4 separate regions of the Homo sapiens genome follow, and regions 2, 3 and 4 are each linked to region 1. The links are contacts of gene promoters, found by promoter capture Hi-C in human tissues and cell types (Jung and others, 2019). All regions are on one chromosome and are shown on one strand. Each heading gives the region's core, a stretch centred on a gene start or on the middle of the fragment in contact. The rest is flanking DNA. Distances are from core to core; before and after follow the strand shown. Region 1 holds the start of OTOP1 (otopetrin 1). Region 2 has its middle 58 kb from the start of OTOP1. Region 3 overlaps LYAR (Ly1 antibody reactive). Region 4 has its middle 11 kb from the start of TMEM128.

Region 1 (5,987 bases), core at 1,958-4,457:
CTGTCATCCAGGCTGGAGTCCAGTGGCACAATCTTGGCTCACTGCAACCTCTGCCTCTGCCTCTGCCTCCTGGGTTCAAGAGATTCTCCTGCCTCAGCCTCTCAAGTAGCTGGGATTACAGGTGCGCACCACCACGCTGGCTAATTTTTGTATTTTTAGTAGAGACGGTGTTTCACCATGTTGGCCAGGCTAGTCTCGAACTCCTGACCTCAAGTGATCTGCCTCGACCTCCCAAAGTGCTGGGATTACAGGCTCTCAGTGAGTTTTAACATTGTCTTGAGATTACAATAAAGGGGGCTGACTTTAGCCTCCAGAAACTTTCATTTCATTGCTTCTTAAAAAAATGCAGGCCAGGTGGGGTGGCTCATGCTGGTAATTCCAGCACTTTGGGAGGCCAAGGGGTGGATCACGAGGTCAGGAGTTAAGACCAGGCTAGCCAGCATGGGGAAACCGCACCTCTACTAAAAATACAGAAATTAGCCGGGCATGGTGGCAGGCGCCTGTAATCCCAGCTACTCGGGAGGCTGAGGCAGGAGAATCGCTTGAACTCAGGAGGCAGAGGTTGCAGTGAGCTGAGATGATTGTGCCACTGCACTCCAGCTTGGGTAACAGAGTGAGACTCCATCTCAAAAAACCAACCAACCAACCAAACAAACAAACAAAAAAGTGCAGGTAGCCCAGAGACAGGCATTCCACTTGATTTTCAGATGGTGACTGAGCTTTATTTATCTTTGTACTCAACGGGTTAAGGTACTGCTAGCTGCTGTAACATTTCAGACTTTGGTGGCTTAGCACAATGGAAGTTTATTTCTCACTGATGTAAGGTCCAGCTTCGGGAGGAAAAGCCGCCTCACTAGTCACTGGGGAGACACGCAGACAGGCTCTTCCATCTTCAGCTCAGGCTCCCAGGTTGCTCTGGCTGTTGGTAGGAAGAGGAGGGGAGAAGGTGGAGGGTCCCTAGTAGGTTTGCTGGATCTTCTCTCTGGATTGCCTTTCCAGACCCCTGCTCCCTTCCGCCTGACCATCCACTCCTAAGCCTAAAGAATGTGCAGGAGGCTGGACGTGGTAGCTGGAGCCTGTGATCCCAGTGCTTTGGGAGGCTGAGGTAGGAGGATGGCTTGAGCCCAGGAGTTTGAGATCAACCTGAGCAACATAGTGAGACCCGTCTCTACAAAAAAACAATTTAAAAAAAATGAGCCAGGCGTGGTAGCACACACCTGTAGTCCCAGCTATTCGGGAGGCTGAGGCGGGAGGAGCACTTGAGCCCCAGAATTCGAGGCTGTAGTGAGCCATAATCACACCACTTCATTCCAGCCTGGGAGACACAGGGAGACCCTGTCCTTATTAAAAGATAAAAATAAGAGAAAGAAAGAAAGAAAGAAGACTGTGCAGGTGTTGCCTCCTCCCTGAACCTCTCAGCCTTCCTGCAGACCTGGACTCCTCCCAGGCCCCTGGTTGTAGCCCTGCTCAAGGGTGTTGTGCTGCTTACTCTGTCCCCACTCCCAAGCTCTTAGAAGTTGAGGGCTAAGTCTCACAGGTCATGATCCCCAGCTTCCCAGTGAGGGCTCATTAGCTGTTTGTTTATTGCTGTTTCTCTACCTGAACATCAGCTCCACCTGAGCAGAGCCTTTCATAGCTGAAAACCCAGCTGCTAGAACAGAGAGCAGCAAATGATTCATAGGTCAACACATACATATGTGTTGATCAAATGCATGAATGCGTGAATTGGAAGAATGATGGTGGCAAGGTAAGGTCCCCCAGGTTGACTCCTTGCTAGCCCAGGACTCCCCACCCCTCCTTTACTAGTCAGGACCTGCTATTGCAATTTGCTGCGCTTAGCGCAAAACAAAAACATGGGCCCTCTTGTTCAAAAATTAAGAATTTCAAGACGGCAAGAACCTTAAACCAAGAGCGAGAGGGTGTCTTCCGGGCCCAGCCCCGGGCTGCTGCACGGTGGGATGTGGGCTTGCCCCAGGCTCGCTCCCAACTCCCCTCTCCAACCTGCGGCTGGGGGGCTGGGGTCCGGCGCCTCCTGTCAGCCACGCCAGACCCGTAGAACGCTCTTCAGCTGAAACTTCCCAGACCTCCACTTAGCGGCACCCGAGCGGGGCTCCCTGGCAGACTCAGTCCCCTTCCGGGAGCAGGCGGGTGCCAGGCGGGCACCGGGGCTTTGGAAGGGGCTAGTGAAGACGCTTGGGCGCCGGTAGCAACAGGGCAGACCCCGGGGCGTCCCTCATTCCAGCTCCTCTGGGTCCAGAACGGCTGCCGCTCCTTTGGGGGAGGGTGCGGGATGGTCTCTTTTCTTAGAAAGTGGCTCAGGTCTTATTCTGCGCCTGGGCATCTCGCAGCCGACACACAGGCACACCAGACGGACAAACAGAAAAACCCACAGAAGGCGGCCCCTCCCCCAATTCAGAGAGCCAGTGACGGGCGCTCCTCCACCCCTAACCAGACACACCCGATAACAGACGGCCAGACACAGAGTGACCCGCACAGAGAAGACAATACAGAAATACGCAGGGACGAGTACAGACCGTCGGACGCTCGGACACGGACGCAGGCAGGATCCCCTGGACCTCTGGGTTCCCCAACGGAGACCCTCGGGGAAGGCCCGGAGCATCGCAAGCCCCTGTGGAGCCCCGGACGCCCCGCTTGGCAGCAGCCACGCCCCCCGCGCACACCCCCCTCGGGCTGGCTCCGGGAGACCCCCTCTCCCCAGTCCCGCAACCCCGGGACCCCGGCAGGCACTTCTTGTCACCCAGCGTTTCCGGGGCGCCCGGACAGGGGCTGGGTGGGCGGGCGTCGGCTCAGGGGTGAGGGCTGCAGACGGCGGGCGGGGGCCGGGCGCGCGGGCGGAGGTGCGGGAGGACGCGCTAGTGTCGCGGCAGGGCTGGCCAGTGTCCCAGGGATCAGGAGCGGGGAGCTGTCCGCGTGGGTCCCGGAGGGGGCAGATGGCTGCCCCGGGCGTTGCCCAGTGAGGGGCAGCGGGCAAGGGAGCTCGTAGAATCCCAGGTCAGCAGGGTGGGGCGCTGGGTAAGTGGACAGGGTGGTACCTTGACGGAGGACGAAGGGGCAGAAGAGGGGAGGGCGGGCGTCGGGAGGTGACAGGAGAGGGGGCAGGTTGGCAGGGGCGTGGGGTAGGAATCGGAAGGGAGTTGAAAAGGGAGGTGCTGGTTGGCAGAGGCGTCGGGGCAAGGACAGGAGCCAGGAGCGCAGGCGGGGCCCGACGGCAGCCACCCCCGGGACCAGACTTGGCGCGGGTGTCTCGAAGATGCTCGAGGGCCTGGGGTCGCCCGCCTCGCCCCGGGCAGCTGCAAGCGCCTCGGTCGCAGGGTCGTCGGGGCCAGCGGCCTGCTCGCCTCCCTCGTCCTCGGCCCCGAGGTCCCCGGAATCCCCGGCCCCCCGGCGGGGCGGTGTGCGCGCCAGCGTCCCACAGAAACTGGCCGAGATGCTGAGCAGCCAGTATGGGCTGATCGTGTTCGTGGCGGGGCTGCTGCTGCTGCTGGCCTGGGCCGTGCACGCCGCGGGCGTGAGCAAGAGCGACCTGCTGTGCTTCCTGACGGCGCTCATGCTGCTGCAGCTGCTGTGGATGCTGTGGTACGTGGGCCGCAGCTCCGCGCACCGCCGCCTCTTCCGCCTCAAGGACACGCACGCGGGTGCCGGCTGGCTGCGCGGTGAGTCCAGGCGCCGGGCGAGCGGGTCTCCGCCTCCTCGCCCGCTGGCTGCATCCTGAGGCTGCTCTGCGCCCTTCCTACCGCTGCCGTCTTCCCTTCAGCCTTTTCTGCCTTGGTCTCTCTGTGCATCTTTCCTAGCTTTCCTGTCTGCCCTTCCTTTCCTCTCTCTCTCTCTGAAGCTTGGGTCGCCGCAGGAGCCTCCTCTCCGCCTCCAGACGCTTCCATCATTACAGCCACAGTTACAGAAACCTCTCTTGTCCTTCCCTGACTTAAAGCCATGCAGTGGCCCTACTGACCCCATGATGGAGGCCACGCTCCCTCTCCTGACACTCAGAGCCTTCTAGCACTCGGCCCCCGAGGGCCCGTTTCCTTTGATCCCCTCCTTTGTTCTCATCCTGTGCTGGGGTCATTCTCGCGAACTTTCTCGCCCATCGCAGGACCTCTGCCTCTGCACATTCGGCACCTTCGGTTCTCTCCTCCAGGAATGTCTTTTCCACTTTCCCACCTGCCCCTCTGCTTTCCGAGACAGGGCTCAGGCCTCACCCCATTCTCCCCGCGAAGCTTCTCCGACCCCCTTCTCCTCCCGGCTTTGCAGGTCTGACCACATGCCCCCAGCCCGCACTGGGCTCCAGTGTTCTTGTCAACATGTCTGTACCCTCCACTCCACTGGGGAGCTCTGTGATCCCTGTCTCTCGGTCCTAGAGCCACCTCAGGGCCTGGCACGAAGTGGGTGTTGAGAAAATGAGGGGGTATGAATGAAATAATGAATGCGTGGATGCAGGGTGGGGCAAAGAGGGATAGAGGCTCCTGCTGGTACTCACAGGCATTGGCTGAAATTGTCAAGATAGGAGCTCTTTCTTCCTCAAGGGGCTGCCACATTTTTTTTTTTTTTTTTGAGACAATGTTGCTCTATCTCCCAGGCTGGAGTGCAGTGGCACAATCACAGCTCACTACAGCCTCTTCCTCCTGGGCTCAAGCAATCCTCCCACTTCAGCCTCCTGAATAGCTGGAACTATAGACACACATGGCCTTGCCCAGCTAAGTTTTGTTATATTTTGTACAGATAGGGCCTCGTTGTGTTGTCTCCTTTTCTCAAACTCCTGGCCTCCAGGGATCCTCCTGCCTTGGCCTCCCAAAATGCTGGGATCACAGGCATGAACCACTGTGCCTGGCTGGGGCTGCCAGTCTTGAATGGGAGACAGACATGGTGCAGGTGAAAGGGAGGAGGCCATGGGGAGCATGCTTGTGAAGAAAGCTTCTGTCTGAGTAACCTTCCCAGGAGAGGCCAAGTGCATTTCACACCACGTGGTCCAGGCACATCACACATTGCCACTTGGACTCTCATATTAGACCTGAATTTAAATCTCCATTAGAGTGGGGCTTCCGTGTTCCTTGCATGCATGACCTTGGGCAAGTTACCTGATTGCCTTCCTTACCCTGAACCCTGGTTTCAGCATCTGTAGAATGGGGATCTCAAACTGGATAAGATCCAGTGACTGATGAGGTGGCTGCCCAGCACACACTAGGCCTCCTTTCCACATTTCTTTCAAAGGTCCTGGCCAGATGCCACCTTCTTCACAAATGCCTGGCAGGAATTACTCCTCACTTCTATGGGCCACCATGGCCCCCTTTCTGTAAAGCTCTTTTGGTCCTTGTCCGTTTCTGCCTTGTATTATGACTGTTGGATATTAGCCTTACCATCCAGAAGAGATTTTAGACTTCTTAGGCTCAGGGACTGGATCTAGTTCATCTTGCTTTTGGGGAAATTTGACACCATTGCAGCGTGGCCCAAATTCCTGTTCTGAAAATGGTTGTTTTAGGGAAGTTAATGGTTTTGTGACTCTGTGAATGACAGTGAATCTGGTGCTATTTAAAACAAGGCACAAAGTGTTATTTTAGGATATTGACTTACACAGGCTAAAAAGTATTATACACATGAGCCTTTACCTGTGTTTTCCTATAGTCAAAGCCCCTTTTTTGTTCCTTCTTTCTCTCCTCCATCCTTTTTTCTCCCTTCTTCCTTCCCTCCTTCTCCTTTCCTTTCTTCCTCCTCCCTCCCTCCCTATTCCCTCGCCTTCCCTCCTCTCTGCCTTTCCTTCTTTATTTTTTTTTTTTGAGATGGAGTCTTGCCCTGTCGCCCAGGCTGGAGTGCAATGGTGCGATCTCGGCTCACTGCAACCTCCACCTCCCGGGTTCAAACGATTCTCCTGCCTCAGCCTCCCAAGTAGCTGGGATTATAGGCGCCTGCAACTATGCCCAGCTATTTTTTGTATCTTTAGTAGAGACGGGGTTTCATCATGTTGGCCAGACTGG
Region 2 (5,987 bases), core at 1,067-3,566, 58 kb after region 1:
CCCTGGGATATCGCGTGTCATATCCTCCTCTCCCACGTTGCAATTAGAAACAATATCAGTCGGGGCGTGTCCACCTTCTGTGATATTGAAAGTAATATTATCCTCTTCCCTCCAGGATCATGGGAACAATATCCCTGGGGGGTGTCCACTTTGTGCCACATATGTAGTCATATGACCCCCTACGCCTTGGAATATTTTGAAGGACCATCTCACATGGGGATGTACACTTCCTGCGATATTGGGAGTAATATCAGATGCTTCTTCCGTGAATATTAGGAGCAATATCACGGGGTAGATGCAGACCCAGTGCTATATTGGGAGTAACGTCATACTCCACCCCCTGGAGATTATATTCTGATCAATATCACCGGCTGGGTGTACACCTACTGCGATATTGAACGTAATATCATGCTCTCTCCCTCCCTGGACATTAGAAGCAATAACACAGGTGGGTGTACACCCACTGAGTTATTAGGCGTAATATTAGTATGAATTATTCCTCATTTATTATTATCATGAATATGAATGACAGGTATTAATATTAATATTAAGAAATAATTGCTAATATAATATTTTCAGATTATTAATATTAATATTAATTATTTGTAGCTAATATTTCTAATGAATAAGATCAATATCAGTTATTAATATCAGGCATCATTAATCATTAATATTAATCATTTACTGTTATCATTAGTATAACTAATATTAATTATCCTTATTATCGGTATTGATTTTAAAAATTATATTATCAGTTATTAATATTGATAATTAGTGTCAATTAATAATTGAGATTATTAATTGTGGTAAGTCACGTTGCACCATTCCACCCTCCCTCCGCAGCTCGTTTACGACCCAAAACGGGGACACAAATGCCCCTGAGAGAGCAGCGGTATACTGGGATAGATAAGGATGGTCACTTGGTGGAGAGGCGTGCTTTTGGCTACCAGCCCATCACCTGCGTCAACCTTCTCAACTGGAAAAACAATACACAGAACTATACCGAAAAGCCACAAGCCCTAATTGATTTTCTCCAAGCTGTTATCCAGACCCACAACCCCACCTTGGCTGATTGGCACCAGTTGCTCATGTTCCTCTTTAACAGCGAAGAAAGGCGGAGAGTCCTCCAAGCAGTAACTAAGTGGCTAGAAGAACATGCACCAGCTGATTATCAAAACCCCCAAGAGTATGGAAGGACCCAGGTGTCAGGAACCGACCCCATTTGGACCCACATGAAAGAGAGGAGATTCAAAGGCTAAACTGAGACAAGGAAGCTCTCTTGGAAATATTAATGAGGGGAGCTCAGAAGGCCACAAACGTTAACAAGGTCTCTGAGGTCATTCAGGGAAAAGAGGAAAGTCCAGCACAATTCTACGAGAGACTGTGTGAGGCCTATCGTATGTATACTCCCTTTGATCCCGATAGCCCTGAAAATCAGCGTATGATTCACATGGCTTTAGTCCGTCAAAGCGCAGAAGACATGAGAAGAAAACTGCAGAAACAGGCTAGAATTAGCTGTTACTGCTAGCTAATTACTAGAAATAGCTAGCCAGGTGTTTGTAAACAGGGATGCAGTAAGCCCTAAGGAAAACAGCAAAGAGAATGGAAGTCAGGCCCGGCGACACGATGACCTGTTTGTCAGCTGCAGCAATCAGAGGGGCCCCCCCAAAGAGGCAAGGGAAGGGGGGTCCTGGGAAAGAAACTCAGCTTGGCTGTCAGAGTTTGCAGCGTAACCAGTGTGCTCATTGTAAAGAAATAGGACAGTGGAAGAACAAATGCCCTGAGCTCAAAAGAAAACAAGGTGACTCCGAGCAGGAGGCCCCAGAAAGAAGGAAGGGGCCCGGCTCAACCTGGCAGAAGGGTTATTGGACTGAGGGAGACCGGGCTCAACTGTCCCCAAAGAGTCTCTGGTCAGAATGACAGTCGGGGGTAAAGACATTGATTTTCTTGTAGATAGCGGTGCTGAACATTCGCTAGTAACCGCCACGGTCACCCCCTTTTGCAGAAAGACTATTGACATCATCGGAGTCACGGGGGTTTCAGGAAAGCAAGCTTTCTGCTTGTCCCGGACTTGTACTGTAGGAAGACACAGAGTCATTCAACAGTTTTGGTACATGCGTGACTGTCCCTCGACCTTTTTGGGAAGGGACTTGCTCAGCAAGCTGAGAGCCACTATCTCTTTGACAGAGCACGGCTCTTTGCTGCTCAAGTTACCCGGAACGGGAGTCATTATGATGCTTAAGGTCCCCCGAGAGGAGGAATGGAGACTTTTCTTAACTGAGCCGGGCCAAGAGAGAAGACCAGCTCTGGCTAAGCGGTGGCCAAGAGTACGGGCAGAAGACAACCCTCCAGGATTGGCCGGTTAAGACTGGGGCCCAGCCGGTGAGGCAAAAACAGGACCCGATCCCCAGAGAAGCCCTTCAAGGTATCCAGGTCCGTCTCAAGCACCTAAGAACTTTTGGAATTATTGTTCCTTGTCAGTCTCCATGCAACACTCCCCTCCTGCCTGTTACCAAGCCACCGACCAAGGACTACCTGCCGGTACAGGATTTGCGCTTGCTTCATCAAGCTACACTGACTTTACATCCAACAGTACCTAACCCGTCCACATTGTTGGGGTTGCTGCCAGCTGAGGACAGCGGGTTCACCTGCTTGGACCCGAAAGACCCTTTCTTTCCTATCAGATTAGCCCCAGAGAGGCAGAAGCTGTTTGCCTTTCAGTGGGAAGATCCGGAGTCAGGTGTCACTACTCAGTACACTTGGACCAACTTTCCCCAAGGGTTCAAGAACTCCCCCACCATCTTCGGGGAGGCGTGGGCTCGAGACCTCCAGAGGTTTCCCAGCAGAGACCTAGGCTGCGTGTTGCTCCAGTAGGTTGATGACCTTCTGCTGGGACACCCCACGGCAGTCGGGTGTGCCAAGGGAACAGATGCCCTACACCGGCACCTGGAGGAGTGTGGGTATCAAGTGTCCAAGAAGAAAGCTCAGATCTGCCGACAACATGTACATTACTTGGGATTTGCTATCCGATAGGGGTGGGAACGCAGCCCGGGATCAGAATGAAAGCAGGTCATTTGCAATCTAGCGGAGCCTAAGAGCAGAAGGCAGGTGAGAGAATTCTTAGGAGCTGTGGGGTTTTGTAAACTGTGGATCCCAAACTTTGCAGTATTAGCCAAGACTTTGTATGAGGTCACCAAGGGGGCGGGGACTGGGAACCTTTGGAATGCGGATCCCAACAACAGCAAGGCTTTCATGAGTTAAAGGAAAAACTTCTGGCAGCCCCAGCCCTGGGGCTACCCGATCTGACAAAGCCTTCTCCATTGTGTGCATCAGAGAGAGAAAAGATGGCTGCTGGACTTTGAACACAAACTGTGGGGCCCTGGCCGAGGCCGGTGGTCTACCTCTCTCAACAACTAAACGGGGTTACTAAAGGATGGTCCCCCTGTTGGAGGGCCTTGGCAGCAACCGCCCTGCGAGTACAAGAAGCAAATAAGCTGACTCTTGGGCAAAACCTGAAAATGAAGGCCTCCTGTGCTGTGGTGACTTTAATGAATACTAAAGGACATCATTGGCTAATGAATGCCACACTCACCCAGTACCATGCTTGGCTCTGTGAAAATCCCCGTATAACCATTGAAGTTTGTAACAGCCTACACCCCACCACCTTGCTCCCGGTATCAGAGAGCCCTGTCGAGCCTGGTTGTGTAGAAGTGTTGGACACAGTTGACTCTAGCAGACTTGACCTCCGGGGCCAGCCTTAGGAATCAGTAGACTGGGAACTATACGTGGATGGGAGTAGCTTCTTCAACCCCCAAGGAGAGAGAGGTGCAGGGTATGCAGTGATAACCCTGGACACTGTTGATGAAGACAGATCATTGCCCCAGGCCACGTCAGCCCAGAAAGCTGAACTCATTGCTTTCATTCGGGCCTTAGAACTCAGTGAGGGTGAGACTGTCAACATTTACACTGATTCTCGGTATGTCTTTTGAACCCTTCAAGTGCATGGAGCATGATAGAAAGAACAGAGCCTATTGAACTCTGGCAGAAAAGACAGAAAATATCAACAAGAAATTTTGCAATGATTAGAAGCAGTATGGAAACCCCGCAAGGTGGCAGTTATGCATTGCAGGGGACACCAGCAAGCTTCCACCTTGGTGGGCTTGGGGAATTCCCGCGCTGACTCAGAGGCTCGAAAAGCAGCATCTGCCCCCTTCGGGGCATCAGTGCTCCCTCAAGCACCTGATCTTGGACCTACTTCTTCTAAAGAAGAAAAGGACTTTCTCCAGGTAGAGGGAAGGACAACTGATGGAGGAAGGATGGATTCGGTTACCAGATGGGAGAGTAGCTGCGCCAGAGCTGCTAGGAGCTGCAGTTGTACTGGCTGTGCAAGAAACCACCCATCGGGGTCAGGAGTCACTGGAAAAGTTGTTAGGCCGGTATTTCTACATCTCACCTTTGTCAGCCCTTGCCAAAACGGTGAGGCAGCGGTGTGTTACCTGCCGACAGCATGATGGGAGGCAAGGTCCAGCCGTTCCGCCCGGCATACGAGCTTACGGAGCAGCCCCCTTTGAAGGTTTCCAGGTGGACTTCACAGAGATGCCAAAGTGTGGAGGTAACAAGTATGTACTAGTTCTTGGGCGCACCTACTCTGGGTGGGTGGAGATCTGGGTCTTCCTCCCCAAACCTGGAAGTTAGCAACGAAATCACAGAGGGGGTGTACACACCCTGCGACATGGGAAGTAATATGATCCTCTCTCCACCTGGATACTGGGAAAGATAACACAGCGCGGGTATACATTTCCTACGCTGTTGCGAGTAATATCATTCTTTTCCTTTCTGGATATTAGGGAGAATATCACAGGGGTGCTGTACAATTACTTCGACATTGGGAGTAACATCATCCTCTATTTTCCTGGATATTGGGCACAAAAACACAAAAGGGTGAACAATCCCTGGGATATCTGGAGTAATATTATCCTCTCCCCTCACGATTATTAAGAACAATATCGTAGGTGTGGGGGATGTACACCCCCTTTCATGTTTGATATCATCCTCTTTCCCCCTGGATATTAGGAACAATATCAGGAAGGGATGTACAGACCCTGCGACCTTTGCTGTCATATAATTCTCTCTCCCATAGATATTAGGAAAAAATGTCCCTGGGGATGTGAACAGCCCTGCGATATTGAGAGTAGTATCATCCTCTCCCCTTGCATACTGGGAAAAATATCACAGGTGGGGTGTACTGCCTCTGTGATATTGGGAGTGAAATTTTCCTCTCTTCCCCTGGACATTAGGAAGGGTATCAGAGGGGGAGGGTGTACATTCCCTGCGACATTCAACGTAACCTTATCCTCTGCCTCCCACGGTAATCAGAACAATATTACAGGAGGGGTGTACACCCTCTGCGATATTGAGAGTCATATAATCCTCTTTCGCTCGGGATATTAGGAACAATATCACAGGGTTCTGTACCCCCCCTGCGATATTGGGAGTCATATCATCCTCTCTCCCTGTGGATATTAGGAAGAGTATCACAGGGCTGTGGAAACCCCCAGCGGTCCTGGGAGTAATATCATCCTCTCTCCCTCTGAAAATAGGAAGATTTTCACAGGGGTGTGTTCAAGCCCTGCAATATTGGCAGTAAGATCATCCTCTCCACCCAGGAAATGACTAACAAGGTCACGGGGGGATGTACTCCCGGTGCGGAGAGTGAGAGCCAGCCCCTCTTGCCCGCCTGGCTCTTAGGACCCGCGATGGACTCACAGCCTGTTTATCGTATTGTGAGTAATATCATCTCCCGCTCTGGGGATTTTGAACTGTTTCACAGACCGGTGTACACCCTTTGTGTACAGAGGTTGTACACCGGTCTGTATTGGGAGTCATATCATCCTCTTCCTCCCTCAATATTAGGAACAATATCACAGGGGTGTTTCTACTCCCTGGGATATCGGGTGTCATGTCCTCCACTTCCACGTTGCAATTAG
Region 3 (5,987 bases), core at 1,465-3,964, 58 kb before region 1:
CCATACAGACAGACGAAGACGCAGCCAGGAGCACACGCAGAGGACCTGCGTGAGGGCCCCAGGTGTATCTGGGTGGATAGGATAGTGTCAGCATTCAGGAAATGTCTGCCGAATTGAGTTAAAGTGACTGAGCAAGAACCGAAGTATGCTCTCAACCAGTCCAAGAACACTGCCTTCTGCCTGCCTTTCTCTTTTAACATGCGCATGTGGCCAGAAGGAAAGCATGTAGAATCTCTCTGGCTGCGCTGGGACTGGACATTGGGCAGAGGGAGTTGGGGAGCCAGGGAAGGAAAAGAGGACTCTATTTAGATCCAGCCCCATGAAAAAACTGCTGTCTTTTTACACTTAGGGCTAGATGTTGAAATCTGTCACATCTGAGCCCGGCAGACTGGGTGTCCTCAAAATCTTAATGCAGTTTTAAGCTTTCATAATTTCAGAAGCATAAATGATCCAAACTTGCCAAAACATCATTTAAAATTTAATTAAGGCCGGGCGCGGTGGCTCACGCCTGTAATCCCAGCACTTTGGGAGGCCGAGGCAGGCGGATCACGAGGTCAGGAGATTGAGACCATCCTGGCTAACACGGTGAAACCCCATCTATCTCTACTAAAAAATACAAAAAATAAGCTGGGCGTGGTGGCGGATGCCTGTAATCCCAGCTACTCGGGAGGCTGAGGCAAGAGAATGGCATGAACCCGGGAGGCGGAGCTTGCAGTGAGCCAAGAATGCACCACTGCACTCCAGCCTGGGCGACAAAGCGAGACTCCTTTCTCAAAAAAAAAAAAAAAAAGTTTAATTAAATTTCCTTCATGCTTATCTAGTCTTGTGGAATTTGAACAATACCGTTTTACTTTTTTGTTTTAGGCAATGTTTGCTGTCTTCCATTGGAGTGACTGAATTTCTACATGACGGCTTTTTGTAAGTTTGTAGTATTTACATTTTTGTTTTAGGCAATGTTTGCTGTCTTCCATTAGAGGGACTGAATTTCCACCTGACGGCTTTTTGTAAGTTTGTAGCATTTACGCTTACGAATATTAAGCCTGCACTAAGACCTGGGACACCCTGTCTGCTGTGCAGTTAGGCTGACTTTGAAGCTTCTGATGGTTTTGAGCTTTTCTTTGAAGCCCAAGCAAGTGTTTATGGCATAAATTACAGGTATTTTCGCCTGGGGCTAGGTTGGGTTTGAGGTGTAATCAAGGTGCTGGACTGTCCTCCAGGCTCTGAATAAAGGAGAGGTAAGCTCCTTACAGACATTAGCTCATTAGCCAAGCAAGTGGACACAGAGCTGTTCCCATTTCATGGCAAGTGTAAAAATCCGGAGGAAGGCAGGAAGAGACAGTTCTGACTTCCTGTGCAATCCACCCATTTGGCCTTAAACAAGTAAAGACCAAATGAAAATGATGTGAGAGTTATTTTTTAGCTGGACATGTAACCAGATTCTAATCACCTTCTGAATTGATATTTAATTACACTGTAGTGTGTAGCCGATCTCCAGAGAGATAGAATGTTTGGCACAGTTACTCTTGAGTATCTTTTTGTCAACATCACTGCTTTCACTGCTTCTTTCAGTCAATATATTTTGTTTCCAGCTTCCTTCCTAGGCCTTTAATTCCTGCTGGGACAGGAATCTCTCAATTCACTCTTAAGCCTTGTCGAAACCTTTCTTCCTCCCATCTCCCACTCCATCCAGAAATAGAATTGTCCTCAGCAACAGAGGTTGGCAAGCTCTAAGCCGTATCTAAGTTTCAGAGACTGTTTTTTGTTGTTGTATCTTATTAGAAAAGTGCTTTAACGTTTTTCAGCAGATAATTTGGCATATCACGGCTGCTTTCACCTTGTGCCTGTGATGACAATCTATTTCTTGGTGACTAATAAGTTATTCCTGCTCTTACACCAAAGTGCACCTCCATGCTCTTTGAGAATGTGATGTTGGCTCTTATTCCAGCCTTTGTTCTCCCTTGTCAGGCAGGATAGCTGCTCTTGTTGCCTGACATGTTGATCATCCCTCTGCCTTTTTTTAGAATGGTAAGCTTTGAGGGAGCTGGGTTGTGGGAAACGTGATTCCAGCTCCCAGGAGCTTGACAATATCACACATCTTTACAGTAAGCAGATGAGAAGATGACAGTTGCTGCAGCACATCGAGGGTAGTCATGTTTTCCTTCCTGAGGATTTGGTGCTAGGTTGTAGCTGACCACATGCTGTCCGTTTACTAACATACACTGATAGTGAGCTGAGGAGCGGGGCCTGGGACCGCGGAATCAGGGGTCTGTGGTTTGTATGTAGCGTAGAAGCTGAGCTGATGTCTGATAGTGTCCCACAGGGCAAGAGGCCTCCACAAGAGACCAGCTGGACCTTTGTGAACCCTGGAGATGCAGCCAGGATGTACATTTCCATTCAAGGCTGAATGGACATGAATAACCTTGGTCGTTGCTTGGGTGTGGCCTCACTGGCAGTGATCCAAAACATGCTGGTGGAGGAGCAACGGTGATTTCATGCATGGGAATTCTCTGCAAACCAAGGGTAGATCATTTGTACTGAAAGCTTGTTGGATGAAGTCCTACCCTGAAGTAAATTGCATCGGTTTACTTGACCCTCACCTTTATTTTCCTAATGAGGAAGAAAGCTCTGGGTTAAACAGTTCTCAGTATTTTTGCTGTAAAACTTATAATGTAAAACAACAATGCTGTTTTAAAATCTAGTGATTAAAAATTATGTAAGTATGGAAAATTACTGTGACTTCTCTAACACTTCTAGACGAATTTGTGTTTTCCTGAGCACGGTAGCATTTCTGTGAAATTTTACAATGATGTTTATGTGCGTGTGCAGACATACTTCTTTTTGGGGCAGTGCTCGGGACACCTGGGTTTGTGAACTCCAGTAATTCAGCACCCAGCAGTTGGGACACCTGGACTTGGTTCCGTTTCTTTCTGACTTGTCTGACAAGCTGCCACATGAAGAAGGCCCCTGTCCATTACAGCTGAGGCGCATGTCCTCATTTTAACCTTTGTAGATATATAGTAATATTGATATGAATGCTTTTAGTGCCATAGAAATTGTGCCCATAGAATTGCCTCTTCTTCACTTTCTAAACTTCACTCAGTTTTCCTCTTGCTGTGTTCTTAGTATATTTGAGGACCTGAAATAGTTTGTAGTGTACACCTAAATTGCAATGCCTTCTATAAGTTTCATATACAGAGAGAGAGTTTAAGGTATTATGGAAAGTAAGATTTAACACCCTCAAAGCTCTTCATCTTGAGAGCCAATCTGCCAGGTTTAAATCCTGGTTCTGTTAACCGTGTATCCTTGGGCAAGTTATGTAATCTCTGTGTCTCAGTTACCTCATATAAATTTTGAACAATAATAGTCCTTCCCTCATAGGGTTACTGCGGGGATTGAATAAGTGAATAAATGTAAAGCCTCTAGAATAGTGCCTGGCACGTGGTAAGGACACAATAAATGTTAGCCATTCTCATTGTTAATGTTAGTTTTACTTATATGAATGGTGGAATTTTATGTAGATTGCTAATCAACTTTGACTCTGTTATTTTCATGTGAAATTATGGTTGAAAAGTTAGGGGCATGAGCCATTTATTGAAATGAGAAGTTTCAGTTTATAATTATAATTGTCTTTTTTTCCTTAGGACAAGACTTAAAACCTGTCTTGGATAGAGAATATTTAGCCATTTACCTAAAAATGGTATTTTTTACATGCAATGCATGTGGTGAATCAGTGAAGAAAATACAAGTGGAAAAGCATGTGTCTGTTTGCAGAAACTGTGAATGCCTTTCTTGCATTGACTGCGGTAAAGATTTCTGGTAAGCTTCACAGAATTCATGTAGATCCATAGTAAATCCAGATCAGTTTTGGAAGCCTTGGCGCCACAAAGCTTGGAAAAATAGTGGCAAATTTGAAGAATGAAATTAAGACTAAAAACTGGTATGTTCCATTGATTAAAACTGGTGTGATTCTTTCAAATGTGCTTTACTAGGCCGGGCGCAGTGGCTCAGGCCTGTAATCCCAGCACTTTGGGAGGCCAAGGTGGGTGGCTCATGAGGTCAGGAGTTGAAGACCAGCCTGGCCAACATAGTGAAACCCTGTCTCTACTAAAAATACAAAAATTAGTCAGGCGTGGTGGTGGGCGCCTGTAATCCCAGCTACTCGGGAGGCTGAGGCAGGAGAATCGCTTGAACCCAGGAGGCAGAGGTTGCGGTGAGCCGAGATTTCACCACTGCACTCCAGCCTGGGCAACAGAGCAAGTTAACCCCTTCTTGGGGGGGAGAAATGTGCTTTACGAAACAATTTGCTTTTTGAGGATATGTTAAAGAAAAGACTAGGGGAAGGGGAATTATGATGATTAGAGTGTTCAGTCAGTTGGTGACACTGGTTGCTATTGCATTGCCACTGTTTACAGACCCAGGGAACTAACTGCGTGGAAGATGGCTCCAGGGGTTTAGAGCCAGTTTCATTAGACCATGGGTATCACATGCCCATCACAGTGGAGAGATGGACTTATGAACCAGAAAGTGAATTTATGAGCTCACAGTGGGGCAGATGACTGGTAGCAGAGGAAACTATGTCCTCCCTAGAAAATCAGAGGTGCTGGTGGAAGTGAGGCTCTTCCTGGCCCCACGGGTGTGTCAGGAGACACTTCCACTGAGGAGGCCTCTGTGAATGTGAGGAGTTAGCGGGGAGGGACAGGACAGATCCTGCCTTAGACACCGGTTCTTCAGGTGGGTCGTTTGCAGAGGGCTCCCCTCTTGAATTTCATGTTGATTCCCCTTCAGCCTCAGAAGGTCCAGGCGAGAAGCTGGCTTCTGGCTGCATCTGCCCCAGTGTCCTCTGAGGCATTCGGATGGTACTGGCTAATACTCTCTTTTAATTCATTCTGGAGCAGTGATTTTTTTTGGAAACTGCTAACCTCTGTTCAGACGTAATCCTAGGAGGAAGCTTGATATATAAAGTAGGTTAAAATTGAGTTTTCATTAGGGGACTTTGCCCTGGACCTTGTCCCCAACATTTCCCTGAAGAACCCCATAGAGCTTTACAAAGATTATATGAGAGAGAATTTAGTTTTCTTTTTTCTCAGGACCCTAAGGGATCCAGAACTGTTGGTAACCTCATGCTGCCATTTTATATCTGTTTTTGATTTATTCTACAACTAATTATTGACTGTCTATTAGACATTGAGATTTTTATAATTTAAAAAAACTACCCTATTGCATAGAACTATTTTCTTGTTTATTCAGTATATGTACACTTATGACTTAAAAAAATACTGCCTATCAATTTAGCTTAAGGTGTTTATAAAAATGGGGGAAAAGTTTGGTGATGGGTTTTATATTGACGACTTTGGAGGAAGGGGGATGTGGTTCTGACCAGGAGGCTGTAAACATAATAAGTGAAATAGATGGGGTGCTTGTGTGATAGACACATGTGAAAATATACAGTGTAGACCACAGAAGATAGTGGCAGCATGCTGGTATTAGCGCCTCCAACTTGGGTATCAGTCTAATGGCAGAACTTTTGATCACTTTAAAGGGGCGATGACTATAAAAACCACGTGAAATGCATAAGTGAAGATCAGAAGTATGGTGGCAAAGGCTATGAAGGTAAAACCCACAAAGGCGACATCAAACAGCAGGCGTGGATTCAGGTAACGTCTCTCTAACTCATTGAGTAGCTTCCTCTGACAGCTTCCGCTTTCTTTGGAAGCCCAAGAGACTAAGAGTAAATGTGTCATCCCTGCAGACAAGCTCTGGAAACCTCATGTCCTAGGATAGACAGGTTGAACTAAAACCTCTTGAAAAAGAATTCTTTGGCTGGGCATGGTGGCTCACGCCTGTAATCCCAGCACTTTGGGAGGCCAAGGCAGGCGAGTCACGAGGTCAGGAGTTCAAGACCTGCCTAGACAACGTGGTGAAACCCCATCTCTACTAAAAATACAAAAAATTAGCCGGGCATAGTGGCGGGTGCCTGTAATCCCAGC
Region 4 (5,987 bases), core at 1,357-3,856, 33 kb before region 1:
TGCACTCCAGCCTGGGCAGCAGAGTGAGACTCTGTCTCAAAAAAATAAAATAAATAAATAAATAAATAATAAATAAAATAAAGAATAGTGTTGGGAAATTGTCTTACGTGTCTTGAGTTTTGCTTCCCTCACAAACTTGTTGAGATCTCAGTCCTCTAGTGCCCTTTGTGCCTGCAATTCTGTACCAAGCCCTTGTATCATCGAACCCATTCTAAGTCACAAGGACTAATAAAATCATTCCAGATTGCCCACCCGGGCTGAGATCTAGGCTGGGTACTCGGGCACTGAGGTCTTCAGGAAGGAAGAGACAATACTGAGGCCAACACAAGGAGTGTTATGAGGTGTGCTGGTTAGAACGTGGGCCTGAGAAGGACTGCTTAATTTTGCCTGGGTGGGGATGGAGGGCACAAGGTTATTAAAGGCCCCCGGATTGATTCTTGGAATTTAAATTGTTATCTATTAACTGCTTGATGTTTTAAGACACTTTCCATATTCCTGCCACTCTATTTTCACCCAGGCTGTATGAGGTGACATGTTCTAAACAGGGTCCATGTGCCAGAATGAGACTCAAGGTTGAATCTGAGCTTTGTATCTCACTCGCCAAAGGTCCCTGCGTGGGCAGGTTACTTAGCATCTCTAAACCTCAGGGGTTTTTCTCTTACACCAACTTTCTATGGTAGATAGAGTGAAATTGATATACTGTACACAAAGTAGCACATAGTAGGTGTCTGAAAATATCTCCTCTTAAAGTACAGGAAGTACACAGACCGAGCAGTGTCTACCATTGGTTGTCCGAGGCACTGGCCCAACAGACAGGATCTGACGCCTTACTTTTTCATGCACAAAGCTCTCTAAGTGACTGGACTGCAGCAAAGAAGAATCAGCGAGGCCAAACCATACAGCATTTAAATGAAGAAATCCACTTCAATTTTTGAAGTAGCACTCTAGTTTACAGTTACTGTGTAACTATTTTTCTGAACAAAGACACAATCCTACGACTGCCAAACCTATATGAGTTAATATTTTAATGCAGGTTTCTATTGAAGTATACATATGTAAAATGTAAATGTACTGCTTCATGAGTTTCACAGAGTGCCCACACCTAAATCAAGAAACAGACTATTCGGCCCACCTTACTTCTGTCTGCATGGGTTGGTTTTGCCTGGTTTTGAACTTGATGTAAATGAAACCACACAGCATGTATCTGTTTGTGTCTTGCTTCTTTCACCCAACATTCCATGAGATTCATCTCTTGATGAAATGTTGGATTTTACAGACTGGTGTGGTGGCCCATGCCTGTAATCCCAGTGCTATGGGAGGCAGAGGCGGGAGAATCACTTGAGCCCGGGAGTTCAAAAGCAATCTGGGCAACATAGCGAGACCCCATCTCTACAAAAAATAAAAAATAAAAAAATTAGCCAGGTGTGGTGGCACATGCCTATAAGCACCTGTAGTCCCAGCAACTCCAGAGGCTGAGGCGGGAGGATTGTTTCAGCCCAGGAGTTGGAGGTTGCAGTGAGCATTAATCATGTCACTGCATTCCAGCCTAAATGAGAGAGTGAGACCCTGTCTCAAAAAATAAAAATAAAGGCAGGGCTCGGTGGCTCACGCCTGTAATCCCAGCACTCTGGGAGGCCGAGGCGGGTGGATCACTTGAGGTCAGGAATTCAAGACCAGCCTGGCCAACATAATGAAACCCCATCTCTACTAAAATTACAAAAATTAGCTGGGTGTGGTGGCACGCACCTGTAATCCCAGCTACTTGGGAGGCTGAGGCTGGAGAATCGCTTGAATCAGGGAGGCAGAGGTTGCAGTGAGCAGAGATTACGCCACTGTACTCCAGCCTGGGCAACAGAGCAAGACTCTGTCTCAATCAATCAATCAATCAATCAATAAAATGTTCAGCTGTTTCAGGGTGGCTAGGTTTCTCATGAAATCGATGACATCTTCTCCTCATCTCCTAGTGTGTACATACACTTTCTCATTGCTACTGAGTATATGCCCACAGGTGGCAGTACTAAGTCATAGGGTATATTTCAGCTTTAACAGATGTAGCCAGTTTTGAGAGGGCTTTTTAGCAGTTTATACTGCCACCCTCAGTATTTGAGGGTATATGCATTTATTTTGCCAAAAAATGCACCGAAATTTAGTATTACTCCCATTTCCATCTCTGTGTTTATCTTTTCAAAATAGCTCTCTTATTGGATGCTGTCAACCAAAGTCACCGGGTACCACTGGATGATAAAACTGTGGAAAATGGTGACTCCATTTTCCCAGCGGATTTCAGTCTTGGATGATGTTAAAAATAAAACGGAACAGTAATTTCTTCCAGCTTAAAGAATAGCATCTGCCTTCCCCTGTCCTTTTCATATTTAAGAAACTTGAGATCTTGCTCTCGGCTCACTTATCATTAGATTTAACAGCTTCTGTAATTTGGGGTTGGACCCTGCTTCTCACTGTCTGTCTCGATTACAACACAGACGATTTCTGAGAAAAAGAAAAATGGTATGTACTGGTGAAAAGAGAAGTTTCTTTGTTTTCTTTTGAGTGCAAATGCTACTTTCATTTCTTGTTGCTGTTATGGGATCTAGGGAAGCTTTAATTTATTCCCTCTGATACAAGTGATTAAACTGCCCCTTGGGTAGTTTAAATTGTAATTGCTGAGTAAATACATATGTTTGTCAGAGTTTAAAGGTCACACATCGCTCAGGAGGTCAGGCCTTTGTTTGGCCACAGAGCGGGTATTGTGAGCTGTTGAAATACCACCTTTGCTGCCCTCCTCCCTTCCCGGTGACCTCAGGCCGACTTCTGTCCATTGTAGATCAAAGGTAGGGAAAGATTCGGTTCCACTGAGCAGTTGCTAACAGCATGGCTTTGGGGATTTGGCAGCAAATTTGAATCAGGATACTATAGTAGTAATGTCATAGGATAGCCCCGCTCAGACTGATTTTATACTGAACAGGGAGGTATTATACAGCTGAACTTGAAACGGTAGTCTCTCTTGCAGGTTTCAGAAAAAAGTTAAGGTCATAGAATTTCTCAGTTTTAGTGTCCCTGCGTAACACCTCTTAAGCCTTTTGGCATCTGTGGCCATGAGATTCTAATTTAGATGCTAGGAGAGCTGGCATAAACATTTATAGCACTTGGCTATTTTTTGCTTAATTTATCCAGATTTCATGATGTTCTACAAAAGTGTGCCTGGCACTCTACTGTGTGAATGAGTTTGAGAGTTGTGGGTCTATAGGGATAGGCAGTAACTTCAAGACAATTGTAATGATGGCAGCTACTGTATCTTTTTTTTTTTTTTTTTTTTTTTTTTTTTTGAGACAGAGTCTCACTGTCACCCAGGCTGGAGTACAGTGGCATGATATCAGCTCACTGCAACCTCTGCCTCCCAGGTTCAAGTGATTCTTGTAACTCAGACTCCCGAGTAGCTGGGACTACAAGGGCACATCACCACGCCCGGCTAATTTTTGTATGTTTTGTAGAGACGGGGTTTTGCCATGTTGGCCAGGCTGGTCTTGAACTCCTGACCTCAGGTGATCTGCCCGCGTCGGCCTCCCAAATTGCTGGGATTACAGGCGTGAGCCACCGCGCCCGGCCTAGCTACTGTATCTTGGGGGCTCTTTGTGCCAGGTGCTGTGTCGGTTCCTGAATGTCAGGTCTGCTTCTTGCCGCATCACAGCACCCAGGCTGGGATTCTAATATGGTTGTCCTTTCCCTCACAGCTGGGCATTCTGCTCACGGTTGCCAGTCTTGAAAGGCTGACAGTTTCTCTCCTTTGTCTATTCTTTTCTTTCTTTCTTTCTTTCTTTCTTTCTTTTTTTTTTGAGAAAGAGTTTTGCTCTTGTTGCCGAGGCTGGAGTGCAATGGCGCGGTCTCGGCTAGCCACAACCCCTGCCTCCCGGGTTCAAGCAGTTCTTCTGCCTCAGGCTCCTGAGTAGCTGGGATTACCGGCATGCACCACCATGCCCGGCTAATTTTGTATTTTTAGTAGAGATGGGGTTCTCCATGTTGTTCAGGCTGGTCTCGAACTCCTGACCTCAGGTGATCCACCTGCCTTGGCCTCCCAAAGTGCTGGGATTACAGGCGTGAGCCACTGCTCCTGGCAACACTTTGATTTTTCTAAGGTTGGCAGAGGGATTTCCTCATACGCTGTGTTCAAACATGTGTTTGCACATTGACGTTTGTGATTTTCTTTTTTTTAATTATTTTTATACGTTCTGGGGTACATGTGCAGGATGTGTACGTTTGTTGCATAGGTAAACATGTGCCATGTGGTTTGCTGCACAGATCATCCCATCACCTAAGTATGAAGCCCAGCATGCATTAGCTCCTTTCCCTAATGTTCTCCCCAACCCCACCGCTGCCCTCCAGTAGGCCCCAGTGTGTGTTGTTCCCCTCTCTGTGTCCGTGTGTTCTCATTGTTCGGCTTCCACTTGTAAGTGAGAACATGTGGTGTTTGGTTTTCTGTTTCTGCATTAGTTTGCTGAGGATAATGGCTTTCAGCTTCATCCATGTCCCTGCAGAGGATATTCTCTTGTTCCTTTTGATGGCTGCATAGTATTCCATGGTGTATATGTACCACATTTTCTTTTTCCAGTCTATCATTGATGGGCATTTGGGTTGGTTCCAAGTCTTTGCTATTTTGAATAATGCTGCAATGAACATATGTGTGCATGTATCTTTATAATACAATGATTTATATTCCTGAGTATATACCCAGTAATGGGATTGCTGGGTCAAATGGTATGATTTTCCTTTTTACATTAAAAAAAATTTCTTTCGTTCCTTTCTCTTTTGTGAGAAATCACACCCGGATGTCATTTTCACTACTTCTTGATGAGGAGGTGTGGAGTCTCTCAAGGGGATGACATGCAGATTCTTACTGGCATAAAAGTGACCCTCAGTTGGCGAATACCTTATTGAATTTCTGTACTATTATTGGGCATGTCCTAAGCCCTCAAGCAAGGGATGGCAAATAGATTCTATCTGACACTACAACTAACTCTAGTCAACTGGCAGTGATTTTCCGGTGCTCTTCAGGATTTTGAGGCTTCCACCTGGCTGTCAAAGGGAAATAAATGCTGCATTTGATCAGCAACATCTGCCACGGGTCTGGGTGGAAAGGGGCACCCAGGTTGCCACATCTTCCCTCCTGGCTTCTCATCTATGGAGATGGCCAGCACCATGGAGCCAGCATTCAGCAAGAATGGCCCCAGGGAAGGGAAAAGGAAATGGCTGCGCTGCCATCAAGAGTGGGCCGAGGTAAATATCCGGTGCAGCATGACGCAGTGGGATTGGAGTGCAGGTGCACAATCCCGTGCAGCATATAATCAGTTATGTAACCATGTTATGGGTGGGCTCATCCCCTGGCTCTGAGCCGCTATTGTCTGTGAAGCGCACAAATGTATCACGAACACTGTGAGAAGGCATGCATAATGGAGTTGGCTGCCTTGCAGGTGGGGGTGGGTGGGTGGAGCCAGGAAATGGTGAGCACACTGGGGAGTGCAGCTGCAGACTGTGGAGCTGGCACTGAGTGGGGCTGCTGAGCAGGCAGCCAAGACAAAGGCTGACACAGAGAATAAAGCCATATCCCACCTGTATAAGATCCCTCGAGTGTTCTTTCAGCTACCCGCCACCGGTCCACCTACTCCCCTCGGACCCCAGCTTGGGTTGGAAGCTGACACTGACTTTCTTTCTTTTCTGTGAGGTGGAGTCTAGCTCTGTTGCCCAGGCTGGAGTGCAGTGGTACGATCTCGGCTCACTGCAACCTCCGCTTCCCAGGTTCAAGCGATTCTCCTGCCTCAGCCTCCAGAGTAGCTGGGACTACAGGTGTGCACCAGCACACCTGGCTAATTTTTGTATTTTTAGTAGAGATGGGGTTTCACCATGTTGGCCAGGCTGGTCTCAAACTCCTGACCTCAGGTGATCTGCCCACCTCGGCCTCCCAAAGTGCCATGATAACAGGTGTGAGCCACCACACC

The links. The method cuts DNA at HindIII sites, captures the fragments that hold promoters and counts their contacts. A contact is called where the count stands out against the background at its distance.
Region 2: a fragment that was not itself captured here is called in contact with the fragment with the promoter of OTOP1 in region 1 in 3 of the 25 tissues and cell types used here (bladder, mesenchymal stem cells and thymus).
Region 3: a fragment that was not itself captured here is called in contact with the fragment with the promoter of OTOP1 in region 1 in 8 of the 25 tissues and cell types used here (H1 embryonic stem cells, aorta, dorsolateral prefrontal cortex and 5 more).
Region 4: a fragment that was not itself captured here is called in contact with the fragment with the promoter of OTOP1 in region 1 in 1 of the 25 tissues and cell types used here (thymus).

What each region holds. Positions count from the first base shown.
Region 1 is chr4:4,224,149-4,230,135 of GRCh38, reverse strand. It overlaps OTOP1 (otopetrin 1), which reads left to right and starts at 3,207. Exons shown (of 6, transcript NM_177998.3): 1 at 3,207-3,674. The coding sequence starts at 3,272. RefSeq lists enhancers at 2,215-2,835, 3,457-4,077. The HindIII fragment of the contact is 12,453 bases long and covers 1-4,044 here.
Region 2 is chr4:4,165,599-4,171,585 of GRCh38, reverse strand. No RefSeq gene overlaps it. Among named protein-coding and RNA genes, the nearest start is that of OTOP1, 58 kb to the left of the region's middle. The HindIII fragment of the contact is 7,512 bases long and covers 1-5,987 here.
Region 3 is chr4:4,281,450-4,287,436 of GRCh38, reverse strand. LYAR (Ly1 antibody reactive) reads left to right here. Exons shown (of 10, transcript NM_017816.3): 2 at 865-918; 3 at 3,642-3,816; 4 at 5,540-5,654. The coding sequence starts at 3,695. Among named protein-coding and RNA genes, the nearest start is that of LYAR, 5.7 kb to the left of the region's middle. The HindIII fragment of the contact is 5,768 bases long and covers 1-5,598 here.
Region 4 is chr4:4,256,452-4,262,438 of GRCh38, reverse strand. No RefSeq gene overlaps it. Among named protein-coding and RNA genes, the nearest start is that of TMEM128, 11 kb to the right of the region's middle. RefSeq lists enhancers at 2,623-2,917, 4,899-5,399. The HindIII fragment of the contact is 3,451 bases long and covers 881-4,331 here.